Regions from separate parts of the Homo sapiens genome. Here region 1 is linked to region 2. The links are contacts of gene promoters, found by promoter capture Hi-C in human tissues and cell types (Jung and others, 2019). All regions are on one chromosome and are shown on one strand. The core of a region is centred on a gene start or on the middle of the fragment in contact, and the rest is flanking DNA. Distances in the headings are between cores, read along the strand shown.

Region 1 (3,193 bases), core at 367-2,866, 650 kb before region 2:
TTGAGGGCCTACAGTGTGATGGTCACTCATTCACAGTTAATCCTCAGCAGGCTCCAGGTGCTTATGGGTAAAGACAGGAGTCACTAGGCAGGCCAGCAGCATGCCTGGCCTGGGCCTTTCCCACTGGGCATCCTGCCACCACCCACACTGTCATGCCACACAAATGTCTGAGTACATGGGCTGGTCTGAGCCCCCAGGAGACCAAGACCTGCTTGAGCACCAGGAAGCCCGATCCGTCTGGGGGTCCCAGTGCCTGGTACTGAGTTTGGTGCATGGTTGGTGCTCCATAAATGCTTATGGATAGAAAGAAAGAAAAAAAGAAAAAGAAAGGAGGGTGGGAGGGAAGGAGACTGAGTGGAGGGAACATTTGCATTGACTGCCCCTGAGTATTCAAAGCAGCACCTGAAGCACACATCCTTGCAGTGGCAGTAAACAAAGGTAGAGAACAGCCCCTGGATGGTGCACGGTGCTTACGTCCCGTTTCCTCCTGCACTGAGTTGACCAGCTGTATGGAGATGACAACGTGGTCACCAGACCCACTTAGACCTGGACCATATTCCCAGAAAAACAGATGCAGTCGGCCACCATGGCATAGCAGCTATTCCGTAACAGATTAGATGCTGGAGTCCTGGAAAGTCGTTCAAGGAAAAGCTATCTCTTTCTTTCCTCTGGAAACATATCATTAGCCTTTAATTTAAGTCAAGGTGGAAGTAGAAGAGGGCAGTCATTGTAGGAAATCTGAGCAGCGATGCTTTAATCCCATTTAGGGACACTTTGAGCAATGACTTATAGATAATGAGAGATTTTAAATTCTTTGGTCAGTCTCTAGCTAAAGGCTTTTTATGGGGGGAAGAATGAGTAATTCAATGCAGATGATCTAGCCTCTTATAAGCTTTTATTAGTGATTTGTTGGACATGGATAACATAAATTTTGCGACCAATCTATTAACAACCTGAATTGGAAGTTGGTTTTCCTGCCCTCCACAGAGCATTTCAGGAACAAGTGTAATAACTGGAGGATCAATAATTCCTATTTAGTATAGTATGCGAGTTAAGTGAACAGGACCGAAGTATTTCTATTTATTGAATATCGTGTCAACAAATTTCCATTTCAAGGATAATAAAACAAGTTACAGCCAATGTCAAGGTTGTTTATCCATACAAAGCATAAACAATATATTTTACTTTAAACAAAAAAGTGCTAATGTTCTTTAAAATAATCCATATTTTGATCCACTCTGCCAAGTAAAAATAATTTTGCATTGAATCTGTCAGCTGTCAAGACACATTATGTCCCATAAAAAGGACAGCAGCTTTGGGAAGAAAAGCACCATAGTAGTAGACCTCCTCGTTTATTGAATGAAGCATGAGATTAGTTTACTCAAGGTATTCATGTAAACATGGACACTTAAAAAATAAATAGAAAAGAAAGAAAGAGCTAAATTTACCAGATGAGGAAGAAACTTAGCTGCAGAGATATTTCTAACTTATAGTCCTCACACACAGTGTGAGAAGTCTGAAAAATGAAATTTTAGTCATTAGAACCTGACAGCTTCCAGTCATAATATGCTGACATGTGTAACGGGAATTAAGAGATTCTACCAGCGGAATGAACGTTCATAATTTTTTTTTGAAGCAAATCATTTATTTCAGCTCCGTGAATCACAGTGCAGCAGCAGATCACCGGACATTTATAAATGGCATAATACAACTTTCTCAGGCTTTGTGTCCTTTCTTAAGTAGATTCCACTTAGAGACACTAATTACTGGTTGAATGGAAGCACTCTCTGTGAGGCAAAGCAAAGGAGGTCTATTCAGAATGAAAATAAGCTTCCAGGGGCTTCCAGAGGGGCTGGGACCACTGAAATTCTGCTCTTTGGTATCTTGCTAAGGTGATTTTGAGTTTTAATTGGTTCACCTTTTCAGGGAAGGACCACAGCCTCCCCCAATTCACTCATCACTAACAGACACTTATAAGTGTTCTGTGCATCACACATTGTCCCAGCTACAGGAGCACCGAGAGGATTACGAGGAGGACTTCTGTCTCATTTAACTCCTTCTGGGGATGAGGAGAAGAAACATTTACACCAGTAAACACTTGGAGCTGACACAACAGGTCAGAGATTGTCTAACACTGGTGAGCAGGAGCCTCACCTGGAATGCCAAGGTCTCGGTATAAGAAAAGGCCCTGGGGTCAGACTGGCTGGGTTCAAGTCCCAGCAACTCCATTAATAAGCTACGTGGCCCTGGCCGAAGAACTTGACCTCTCTATGTCTTACTTTCTTCCTTGGTCAAATGGAATTGATCACTGGGCTTCTTTCTTAGGGCCCTGGTGAGAATGTAATGAGTTGACTGACATACAGGAAATGTTTCTGGCACATGGTGAGTTGTTGGGTCATAGTATTTATTTGCTGGGACAATGGTGGGAGATGACGAGAAACCACCACAGAAGCTGCTAGGGAGGGACCAGGTGGTCCATAGATTATGAAGTCAAAGAGGGTTATTCTTGAGCCTTAAGATCTAATGGAATTTGCTTGGGACCTGTGGCTCCTGTCTTCTTTCTGATTTCTCCCATAGGATATCTATGCTATGCCTGCCCCACCATTGTATTTTGAAAGCAGAGAACTTGTCTGGTTCTATAAGTTTACAGCTGAAGAGGAATTTTGCCTCTGAATAAATCATACCTTGAGTTTCACCCACATCTGATTTAGATGCTATTTAGGTGAGCTTTTGGACTTAGAGTTGATGCTGGAATCAGTTAACACTTTTGAACACGTTGAAATGGAGTCAGTGTATTTTGCACGCAGAAAGGACATGAGTTTTGAAGGGCCAGGGGACACATTATTATGAGCAAATTGTGTCCCTCCACAAAAAAAAAAAAAAAAAAAAAAAAAAAATTCAAATAGAACAAGTCCTCCCAGTACCTCAGAATGTGGCTGTATTTAGAGATCGAATTTGTAAAAGGGTAATTAAGTTAAAAATGAGTCCACCAATCCAATATGACTGGTGTCCTTATAAGAAGAGATCAGGACACAGATACAGAAAGAGGGATAACTGTGGGAAGACACAAGGAGAAGGCGGCCATCTACAAGCTACAGAGAGAGGCCTCAGAAGAGACCAAACCTGTGGATGCCTGGACCTTGGACTTCCAGCCTCCACGACTGTGTGGAAATACATTTCTGTTGTTTAAGCC
Region 2 (3,097 bases), core at 360-2,859:
GTTGTGTTACTGTATTAACACAGAATCTGATCAGCAATGTTGAGATGTAGAGAATACCATCTGTGGTAGCATCAACAGAGAAAGCTATTATTAAGTGACTACTTAAGTTACATTCCCTTCTATAGGTAACAGATGAACATAATCTTATCTACCCAGAAATTTAATTCCAATCACTACATGCCATTTTGAAGAACATAAACGTAACCTACATAAAATGACTATATAAAGAACCCTTGCTTCCTTCTGAAAATGCTTCAAAATTCTAGATTAAATTCTCCCCCAAAGTATCATGCTCAGCATGTCATAAAGAAAGGTGCCTTTATTGTCAACTCTTGAAAATAAATGCTGCCCTACTTTTTTTTACTCTTGAATTTCAGTCTCAACAGATGGGCAATTCCAGTTTAAAAAAAAAGAAGAAGAAAAGAAAAACACACACACAATAATTAATGAAGTTCTTCAACAGTTCCCTAAAACCAACATCCTCCCAATAGCAAATTGTATTTCCAAGTTGTTCCAAGAAAGGGACACAGGAAAGGGAAGGGAAGAGTCTATACAAAGGAAAACAAAAATGAGTGACTTGAAAGAAAGGACATCAGAAAAATGGGTGGCCTCAACAGGAACCTATAGTGTCTGACTCTGCTGCTGTCTGTCGAATTTAATTCTACCACCTAAGAGTTTTGAGACGAGAACCACAATACTATTTCGGTGGTAGGAAAAACTATGCGTTGCCCCTGAATGGAGCTGCAACAGTAAAGGATGCCACCCTGCCAGGTAAGGACAGAATGAGGAGGAACTGTCAAACGGTTATGAAAGTCCCTTGCAAAACACACAAGCGGCTCTAACTGCCTTGCACCAGACAGACCCTCAAGTACAGGATCACGGGGCCTCCCCGCGATGTGACAGGGAAATAACGGGCGGCCTCGCGGTCCCCAGGCCTGGCTGCTATCCTCAGGGGTCGGCCTCCCCTCTCAGGTCTCAAGTCAAAGGTCACATCCTCTGAGATGCCCTCCCGGATCACCTAACCTAAAGAGCCTCGCCCCCATTCCTCTAGCCCGCAACTGCCTGTCCCGTTTCTAAGAAAGCATTTCCGTATCCGCAAAACATCGCAGCTGCGTGTGTTGTTTCCCTTCTACAGAGTGAGCTCTGCGGGGCAGGGGCCTCGCCTGCGCTGTTCACCCGGAGCCCCGCCTGACAGAACCGGCTTCCCGGTGAGGCCCGAGGCGGCGTTTGCGAGCTCGGCCGCGACACCACGCGCGTCCAGAACGTGGAGCTCAGATGGGGGCCGGCCTGGCCAGTCCAGGCATCCCCGGGGGCGCCTGCGGGGCCTGAACGAGACAAGGAAGGAGCGGACGCCCGCGCAGGCGGAAGCCACGCGGCGGAGCGCGGTCCCGCGGGGCGACCGAGGCTGACGGCGACTCCCGCACCCCGGTGGACCCACAGGCCGCCCGGAAGGCCCAGTGCCGGCCCCAGCCCCGGCCGCCCGCCTCCGCGCCCCCGGCTCGGCGCGCGAGTCCTCGAGCCGTGTCGCCTGCGGCCTCCCTACCCTAAGCCGCAGACCCGTCGCGTTCTGCCCAGTACGAACTTCCCGCCGCTTTCGCCGACTCGTAACTCGGCAGCGGCGCCGGCCCCTTCGCACCCTGCAGTATGGAGCCTTCCCATTGGCTCGGAGGCGACGAGGAGGGGCGGGACGAGTGGTAACGCGAGGCGCGGGGCGGAGGCTACGCTAGCCCCGCGCCTCCCCGGGAATGCCGGGAGCTGTGGTCCAGCGCTCCCAAGGCATCCTGGGAGTTGGAGTCTCTTAGCGGCAAAGGGAGATCCCCGTCCTTCTGCTCCCTGGTCTTCTAGGAAATGTGGTTTACAGCCTTGTTCGTAGTAGCTTGATTTATTAAGTGTATTGGCAGAGAGTTGGGTGTAAAATAAGTTTCCTGTTTCTGTTAGGATTAAATGAAATAATCTATAGGCAGTACTTTAAACTTAGTTGGTGCTCAATAAATAGCAGATAGTGTTAGTATTATTCTGCCCACTCATTGATATGTGTCTAAATCCTACCTGTTTTTCGAAGCCTATTTCAAAGCATATCTCAATGTCTACCTAATCATCTATAGTGTTTCATCTGTAATCAACGTATGCCACAGTTTGCATTGTGTTTATTATTTATTTTTATTTATTTATTTTTTTGAGACGGAGTCTCACTCTGTCGCCCAGGCTGGAGTACAGTGGCACAGTCTCGGCTCACTGCAAGCTCCGTCTCCCGGGTTCACGCCATTCTCCTGCCTCAGCCTCCCGAGTAGCTGGGACTACAGGCGCTCGCCATCACGCCCAGCTAATTTTTTTCTGTTTTTAGTAGAGACGGGGTTTCACCGTGTTAGCCAGGATGGTCTCGATCTCCTGACCTTGTGATCCGCCCGCCTTGGCCTCGCCAAGTGCTGGGATTACAGGCGTGAGCCACCGCGCCCGGCCGCATTGTGTTTATTATAATCAGCTAAGTCTCCATCACCCATGAGGCTGAGAGCTTATTGGGCACTGGGTCATTGTTCTAGGTCAAAATCACTGAAGTCACAGGCAGAGGGAGATTAACAATGAAGCCAATGAAGCGTAAGCTTCAGGACCTCACTTGCGCAGGTCCCTCAATGAGTTTACATAGCTTTGGGGGTTTATTTGTCGATTTTACTTTTCTTTTTCTTTTTTTTAAAGATATAGTCTCACTTTGTCACCCAGGCTGCAATGCATTGGCGCGATCTCGGTTCACTGCAGCCACGACCTCCTGGGCTCAAGCAATCCTCCCACCTCAACCCTCCGAGTAGCTGGGATTACACGCACAGGCCACCACTTCTGGCTAATTTTTGTATTTTTTGTAGAGACAGGGTTTGACCATGTTGCCCAGGCTGGTCTTGAACTCCTGAGCTCAAACAATCCACCCCGCCTCAGCCTCCCAAAGTGCTAGAATTACAGGCATGAGCCACCACACCCAGCTGATTTTTCTTAAAGTAGATCCCCCAAAATTATGTGAGCTTCAGTCCCTACAAAACCTGGAATCACTCTGTCCATTAGACAGGGCAATATTGTGCCTGATGTCTTACATTTTCCCCTCCAGATA

What was found. Contacts are between HindIII fragments. The study calls those that stand out against the background at their distance.
Region 1: a contact is called between a fragment that was not itself captured here and the fragment with the promoter of VRK1 in region 2, in 1 of the 25 tissues and cell types used here (lymphoblastoid cells).

The regions. Positions count from the first base shown.
Region 1 is chr14:97,442,829-97,446,021 of GRCh38, reverse strand. No RefSeq gene overlaps it. Among named protein-coding and RNA genes, the nearest start is that of LINC02325, 14 kb to the left of the region's middle. The HindIII fragment of the contact is 5,085 bases long and covers 1-3,193 here.
Region 2 is chr14:96,795,894-96,798,990 of GRCh38, reverse strand. VRK1 (VRK serine/threonine kinase 1) reads right to left here and starts at 1,609. Exons shown (of 13, transcript NM_003384.3): 1 at 1,544-1,609. RefSeq lists an enhancer at 752-1,283 and silencers at 1,228-1,517, 1,528-1,727. The HindIII fragment of the contact is 7,034 bases long and covers 1-3,097 here.